Regions from separate parts of the Homo sapiens genome. Here region 2 is linked to region 1. Evidence: promoter capture Hi-C in 16 types of primary human blood cells and fetal thymus (Javierre and others, 2016). All regions are on one chromosome and are shown on one strand. The core of a region is centred on a gene start or on the middle of the fragment in contact, and the rest is flanking DNA. Distances in the headings are between cores, read along the strand shown.

Region 1 (4,071 bases), core at 364-2,863:
CAGAGTAAACTGCATTAGAATTCTGAGTATCTTATGATACTGATGAAATGCTCTTTCACATCCAAAACAAACAAACAAACAAACACAAACCAACGAACCAACCAACCAAACAACAACAACAACTACAACAACAAACTGGAGAGTTGCAGTGGGAGCAGAAAGTCCCAGAATCCTCTAGGTGTACTTAAAACAGGAAGGCAACAAGAGGCTGTCTGACAGAAAAACAGGCCTGGAGGAATTTACAAAGCCCCTTCCAGGGTCTAGTCCTTTGACCAAACCCTAGGTATTGTTTGCAGCCTGCAAGGGTAAAGGGGAGAAGGAATATATGGAAAGGAGCAAAGCAGAAGTTGAAAGTGTCAGGAAGATGAGTGGAGAAGAGATGAAGAAAGGGGAGTTAAATGAAGAAAAGGGGGATGTGTGTTGAAAGGAAGAGAGAGAGTGATGGGTAAAAAAGAGGAAAAAAAGTTGAAATACATAAGATGAAGTTCCCCATCAACAAATGACTCAGTTGATCAGTAAAAAAACCCTCAGAGTGGCCAATCTTCCACTTGACCCATACCCCACCCAGTTCCAAACCTCACAGCAATGCCGTGGTCCTCTATGAGCACTTTCTCGCCTTTTCACAAAGGCTAATCTCACCTATCAAAGGCCACAGCCGTCATGGAGTAGATACTGGCGAAGACAGCGGCGATGGGAAAGAAGTTGTGGAACTTGCAGTAGAACAGGCCGTAGTACCATTCGTTGTGGACAGCATAGGTGAAGTTCACCACTGTATTGAATGCAGCCATGGAGGCCTCCGCGAAGGCCAGGTTCACCAGAAAATAGTTCGTCACTGTCCTCATTCTTTTGTGGGCTAAGATGATCCACATCACTACCACGTTGCCCACCACAGAGGTCACCACAATGACCGTGTAGGCAGCTGCCCAAAGGACAATTTGCCAGGCTGGTTGCACGAACTGATTGGGTTCCGAGGTGTTAGTGGAGATGTTTGGGGAGAGGTCTGAGTCCACCGGGAGGACGTTATCCATTTCGAAGCTAGGCGGTAAAGCCCTACTATCTGTACACAACCCCCCTCTGCAGCAGAGTCCTGTGGCTGGCGCCTGGGGCTCAGGGTCCTTCTAAAGCCAGACAGGAGGGTGGAAGGCTTTTTCTGGGCAGCACTCTTTTTGAAAGCTGAACTGGCGCTCAGAATATAAACGCTTCTGGATGCACTGCCCGCCTGCCCGCGGTGGCTCTGAATTCCTCCACTTTCAAGCTTCAGGAGACGTTTGAGTTCAGAAGTCTGGAGACAGCATCTCTCTTGCGGTAAACTGAAAAAGGGAAAGAAATTCCACCGGTCACAGTTCTAGGAAGCAAGAGATCCCCCGCATTTATGCACCTGCTGCTGCCTGCAACTCCTATTTCTCCTTCCTCCGCAGGGAAAGGCAAAGCCCTGTGCTGCGTGAGGACTTAGGAGCGAAGTGGGGGCCCATTGCAGCGCGACCTGTAAAAGTTCTGAGCCTATGGCCAGGATTCTGGAGCTTCGTATCCAGCTGGAGATTTTTCCTTCTCTTTTGCTGCCGCTGCCGCCGCCTGCAGTTTCGCGGGCACCTCTCGGTTCGGGTTGCTCAGCTCGCGAGTTAGCTGCGCACGAGGCTTTTATAACCCCCTGCAGAGACGTCACTGGGAAGGGGCAGTACCTGGGCTGCGTACTCGCCAGTCCCGGTGCGCAGCGCGGCAGCTGCGCCAGCTGTTGACAACTGTCTCATTCCACCGCCGCAGCTACCACGCCTTTTGCTGCTTGCTACTTGCCGTGGGAGTCTGCGAGCCGGGAGCCCCACGCACTCCGCGAGGGGGCAGTAGGTGGCTTGGAAGTAACTGACACAGATGCGGTCCGCAGCTGGAATCGTCGTTGCACGAGGGGTGCTGGGAGGAAGGAAGGATTTGGGAAACAGCTGGAGTGGAGGACAATCAACTTCCAGGGAATGAAGCCCAGAGCCCTGAGACAGCTCTGCAGAGGCGGCTTGCCTGTGGCAATGGGAAACGGTCATGTGTGGGGGCGATGTGCCAGCGCCGCGCTCCGGGCCGCGCTCCAGCTACCGAGAAGCCAGAGGCGACGACTCCCTGGTCCAGGTGTCCCGAAAACAACTTTCCTGAGGCTGTGTTTAGGAAACACCCCCACAAAATATCTAGCTCAGTTACCTGGCTAGCTGATTCACCTGGGAAGTGACAGTCTCTAAGCTTTGAGGACACTTTCCTCAGCCACCCTGGTGACTTGGCCCCTCGTTCCAGGAGAAGCTCCATTTGAGCCCTCCACCTGACCCCTCTGGATGAGCCTCTGCTCAATCACTGGGGACAGGGCTGAGCTCCCTGCGAATCTTGGTGAGCGCAGGAGCCACACTCATAGGCAGCTTGTCGCTCAGACGCGCGGCTCTGGGCTCTCCGCCAGCAATCACTGCGGCGCTGCGTTTGCCTCCCGGGGACCTGGCAGCCTCCGCCTCCGCGCCTGCCAAGCCTGCAGGCCAGAGCCGGGCTCGGGGTGGCATCGGTGGTCCTTCTCCCTGTTCCCCTTCCAGGTTTGCATAGGGGCTGGAGGACAGGTCAGCCAGCCTTCTCTGCCCGCCTCCATCCTGCCCTGCCGTCTTCTGACTTTGAGGCCTCGTATCCCAGTCCAAGACCATTTCAAACGGTAGAACTGGTGCCAGACACTTGGAGGAGGCAGGGCAAAGACTCGCCAGTCCGTATAAACCCTTTTGGAGAAGCCAAGATGGGATGAGCTCCGCAGCACGTTCCCGCCAGACTGCTGCAGGCAGAGTTCCGCGGAAAACTGAACCCCGGGAGTCCTCAGGGGCCCATCTACCCCGGTGCACCGCCCCCTCCTTTCACTGCGGGGACTCGGAGCTGTGGGACTGGAGCGCGCACCGGCAGACTTGCGCGCAGGTTGGAGTTGGCGCACACCCGCGCCAGCCGGGGAGCGGCGTTTACGCACTGGTACCGCGAGCGCTCAAAGCATCTCTCGGGAAGTGCTTTAAGGCTGGGAAATTTACTATACACTTATGCCGGGCAAAAATTGGATCCCACGCCGGGGAGGAGAATCTGCTGTTTCACTCTGTATTTTTTCGGAGCCTGGGATTTTAGCGTATATAGGAACCGCACATTGCTTTGCCAGGTTCTCCTAGGCACCCGTAAACACACTGCATAGAAAACTCTAGAGATGCTTTCAAGAGAACAGCGTCCCTTTATTTAGAGCGGCTGCACAAGAGGTCTTCTTTGTGGAAGGGAATGCCTCCTCCACCTTGGATCTCTGCTTGAGGCTTCCACCATCTCAAAGAGCTGACAGAGAGAGGGAGGAAAAGGGAGAGGGAAGGGGATGCGGAGGGTGGGGGAGGGGGGAGGGGAAACTTCTCTATCTTTAATTTTCCTTCCAAGCTGTTTAAAGTTATCTTTTCTTTTTTCTCCCTGTCCATTAGAGCCAGGCTGACGTTTTCAAAAGGAACTTTATTCAGTGGTTAAGGGAGAAAAAGAAAGCTAATCGAATAAAATCTAAATATGTAATAAGAGCTAAATATAAAATAAATATGAAATAGCTAAAAAGTAAACATTAATCCATTTATCCTCCATTAGTACAGCAAGTTGATATTTTGAAGCAGGTACTGTGCTGGGCACTGGGGCTGGGGGGTGAACAAGCACTTACAGTATGGAGGAAGACAAACAAGAAGCAATGAACCATACAAAATGGGCGGTATTATGATGACCAAAGGTACTAAGCCCTGAGTGAGGAGAGAAGAGGGAGGCCACCTAACCTAAACAATGAGGGGTATCCGTACAGATGGAAGAAAATCTCATCCATGAAGAAGCCTGAAGAATGAGTTAGGATGGGAAGAGGTTGAGGGTGGAAAAAAGGCGAATATTTCAGGCTGAAGTTTTATAAATCAAACCTTGTCACTCTGCTTAAAGTCCCATAATGACTGCCCACCTATGAGCCTGCAGGTCAGAGCGGGGCCCTGGGTGGCATCAGGGGTTCTTCTCCCTGCTCACCTTCCAGGTTTGCATAGGGACTGGAGCGCAGGTCAGCCCGCCTTCTCTCCCTGC
Region 2 (3,820 bases), core at 852-3,351, 350 kb after region 1:
CTCCTTGCTGGATGGGTCTTAGAAGGAACAGAGGGGAAAGAATGGAGCTGCACAGGTTCATGGATGGAGCTTCATGCCACCCACCGGGTGAGGAGAAAAGATTCTGCATCTCAGGAATGGTACAGGCTTTGACACCAGACCTGGGTTAAATCTTAGCTCCATTTACCAGCGATACAGCTTTAGGCAAATGACTTGCAATTTTCAAACTTCAGTTTGAAATAGGAAATACAACTTAACATTCTAAAGAATTCTTAAGAATTATGCTTAACAAGGAGATAATCTATGTAATGCACCAAGCACGATGTCTAGTGACCAGCAGGTGACCTCCCAGATGTGCGCATGATTCTGAGTCACACACCCAGAATACCCAAGACTTTTTTTTCCTTCTCTGGAAGAATCAGTCCACTGAGCATTAAAGAAACAACTAGACATGTTCTCATCAAATTGGTCTGCAGTCCTGTCATTTTCACTTTGGAGCACACCACAAACCATTTCTCCCCATCGTCCCTTCCTTAAGTTCCCTGAATTAAAGCAATAGCTCCTAACTGGCTCCCTACCTCCATTCTCTCCCCATCCTCCAATTCAGCATTCACAGAGTCACCCACCAGCATTATCACTCTAGAGCAGGGGCTGGTAAACTACTGCTCATGGGTAAATCCAGCCCACTGCCTGTTTTTGTTTATAAAGTTTTACTATCACATAGCCACACTCACTCACTCATTTGCATATTGTCTGTGGCTCCTTTTGCACCATAGTGGCAGAGCTGAATAGCTATGACAGACTGTAGGTCCACAAAGCTTAGAATACTTACTATCTGATCCTTTACAGAAAAAGTCTGCCAGGCCCTGGGTAAGTTGCCATTCCCTTCAGTGACTTGCCTCTCATAAAAAACCTACATTGAGTAGTTGGCCCTTGCCTGTCTTTCCTAGCTCATTTCTCTTTTATTTATTTATTTTTGAGACAGGGTCTCATTCTGTCACTCAGGCTATAATGCAGAAGCGTGATCTTGGCTCACTGCCAGCTCCACTTCCTGTGCTCAAGGGATTCTCCCACTTCAGCCTCCCAAACAGCTAGAATTACAGGCTCACATCACCATGCCTGGCTAATATTTTTGTATTTTTGGTAGAGATGAGGTTTTGCCATGTTGGCCTGGCTGGTGCTGAACTCCTGGGCTCAAGCAATCTGCCTGCCTTGACCTCCCACAGTGCTGAGATTATAGGTGTGAGCCACCCTGCCTGGCCTCCTTGCTCATTTCTTGCCACTCCCCTATGTCCCACTCTTGCTGATTAAGAGTCCCCCCAAACACCACGTGTTGCCTCCACCTGTAACATCTCTACTCCCTTTCCACATGAAAAAATTTCACATATTCTTTAAGATTATGTTTAAATGTCCCTTCCCTCCGAAGCTTTTCAGCCCTATTCAAGGGTCAGGCACTCCTTCCTTAGAGTTCCCTTAGCACCCTGTGACATCCCTTCAATAGACAGCATGTTGTAAAGAATGAATATGCGCCTACAGATCTTTCTCCTTTACTGGACACCCCCAACCTAAACCTCTCTCATTCCCTCCTAGAGCACCCTGTTCTTGTCCAGGATAGCAGTTACCAGTTTATAATCATCATGTATTTTATCTGTGTATTTACTTCTTGAATGCCCATCCCGTAATAACTGTGAGCCCCCAGAAGGCAGGAACTAAGACTGTCAGAATCACCATCACTTTACCATCATCTAGCCTTGAGCCAGCCACATAGTTGTTCAAATTATTAAATGAACTGATGACTGGCTAAATGAAAAATATATATATATATATATATATATATTTTTTTTTTTTTTACTAATAAATCAAATACAAATGAAAGAGAATCTAAGGTATCACAGCTGTTGCTTTATGGGCACACAGTGTACTGCCTCCCAAACCCTTTTGCACCCTGCCACAATCCAGAAGGTTGGATGGGCAGAAGCACCAGTGATAGCTTAGATGTGGATATCTGACACATGTATACAGCCCTGTGCACTCATTTGTGGGAATCAGTGTGGAACATGTACATAGGACTTTTTCATGACAGAAAATTCAGACCCTGTGGAATAGGAATAAAGCCAAGTATGGGATTATGTAACTTCACCGAACCACATTTGTGCGGAGCCACACAGCATCCCAGCCACACCTTCCTGGGGAAGCACTTCCACCACTCTTTGTCTACTGAGGAAAAGTGGGGCAAAACACCTGCAGCTTCTTCCCTCTGATGGAAGAAAGAGTCCCTAAGGAGAGTGCCCTGTCTGTCCATCACACCCACACCCAGCCAAAGGGACTCTGCACATGCCCACATCCAGGTGAGAGACCTGGCTGGGAGGAGAGTGGGGAGGGGTCCGGCAGGGATGATCCTTCCTTGCCTCCTACAGTGTCCTCCAGTACCTTCAAGCTGTCCTCCAGGGAACCTTCAAGCTGGAAATGTGACTCTTGAATGATGTACTGTTTACTTTTCCTGATACCTGAAGGCTCAAGATCAAACAAATAATTCAGCTGAGCTGCTGCTTTGTGTGGGGAAAGAAAAATACCCCAAGGCCATTTCCCGTGTGGCCTTTTGGATTCAGGATGGTGCCCTTTGGGAGAGCCCTTTCCATAAAGGCCCTCTGTGAAGGTGTGTGCATTTCACTGAGATGTTTCCAAGAAGAGCAAAGATGCCATTTCAACCAAAGCAAATATTTGAAGTTGGCAGCCAAATTCTAATTCCAGCCCTGAGCCTCAGGGATGTCAGCATCATGAACATGAACCAAGGCAAAGCTGAATTTCTTGTTTAAGTCAAGCTTTTAACCCTCTATGGTATCTGCCTCTGGTCTGAACAAAAGAATCTTAAGTATGAAAACAGAGATTGTCTTTGCCCCTAGATAAAAACATCTTCTGGGATGGCTTCTGGGAGGCTCTGGGATGCAGTCTCTAAACCTGGTAACAAAGAATTCACAGGAAATGCCCCTATTTTTCCATTATTAAGAACTTTAAATGGCAGTGGTCAAATCCTCTAGGGTCATTCCAAGCAGAGGGTTGTCACTCCAGCAAATCTTATAATGGACCTTTCATTTCCTACAAGGTCTAAACAACTCTCTGTCTCCTCTCATATATTTGCCTTCATCCCCAACTACCTTTCCCTTTGCTCAGAGAAGCAGGTGTCTCTTCTCCAGTCCAAAGCTGGTGTCTCCTCCCCATAACCCCACTATGGTCTAGGTCCTCTTCCTTCCTCCTGAAACCTTGGTGCTGTTGCCATCCTTACCTCCAAGTATCTACACAGCAGATGCCAATTCCCCATGCCTGAAGTGGAGCTTCAGTACATCATGCTCTATTGAGGAATACTTTGAAGGCAAATTGAGTGGGTGATATACTGAACGCACCTGAATTTGACATGGTCTGGACTTAACAACAAGTGATAAGTCACCACTGGGCATTGTGAAAGACATTTTCTCTGCTCCATCTAATAAAAGCTGAAGACCTGAAACACCTGTCCAGAATTTCTTTAATGATATCCAACTATCAACATGGAAGCCATCCAGAATATGAAGAGAAATATTAGAAATCTGTGTGGAAAAGAGAAGCAAACATGGAGACACCTCTCCCAGCGTGCATAGTCCATTTGTGACCACTCTATAATATGTGCTGGTCGGGCAGGCACGGTGGCTCACGCCTGTAATCCCAGCACTTTGGGAGGCCAAGGAGGGCAGATCACGAAGTCAGGAGTTCGAGACCAGCCTGGCCAGCATGGTGAAATGCTGTCTTTACTAAAAATACAAAAAATTAGCCAGGCATAGTAGTGTGTGTCTGTAATCCCAGCTAC

What was found. Contacts are between HindIII fragments. The CHiCAGO score rates a contact against its expected background, and 5 or more counts as called.
Region 2: a contact is called between a fragment that was not itself captured here and the fragment with the promoter of TACR1 in region 1, in 2 of 17 cell types (megakaryocytes and erythroblasts). The highest score is 5.9, in megakaryocytes.

The regions. Positions count from the first base shown.
Region 1 is chr2:75,197,907-75,201,977 of GRCh38, forward strand. It overlaps TACR1 (tachykinin receptor 1), which reads right to left and starts at 1,614. Exons shown (of 5, transcript NM_001058.4): 1 at 640-1,614. The coding sequence starts at 1,028. All of the region lies in intron 2 of TACR1-AS1 (TACR1 antisense RNA 1), which reads left to right. The HindIII fragment of the contact is 965 bases long and covers 1,254-2,218 here.
Region 2 is chr2:75,547,194-75,551,013 of GRCh38, forward strand. All of the region lies in intron 1 of EVA1A (eva-1 homolog A, regulator of programmed cell death), which reads right to left. Among named protein-coding and RNA genes, the nearest start is that of EVA1A, 12 kb to the right of the region's middle. The HindIII fragment of the contact is 1,396 bases long and covers 1,404-2,799 here.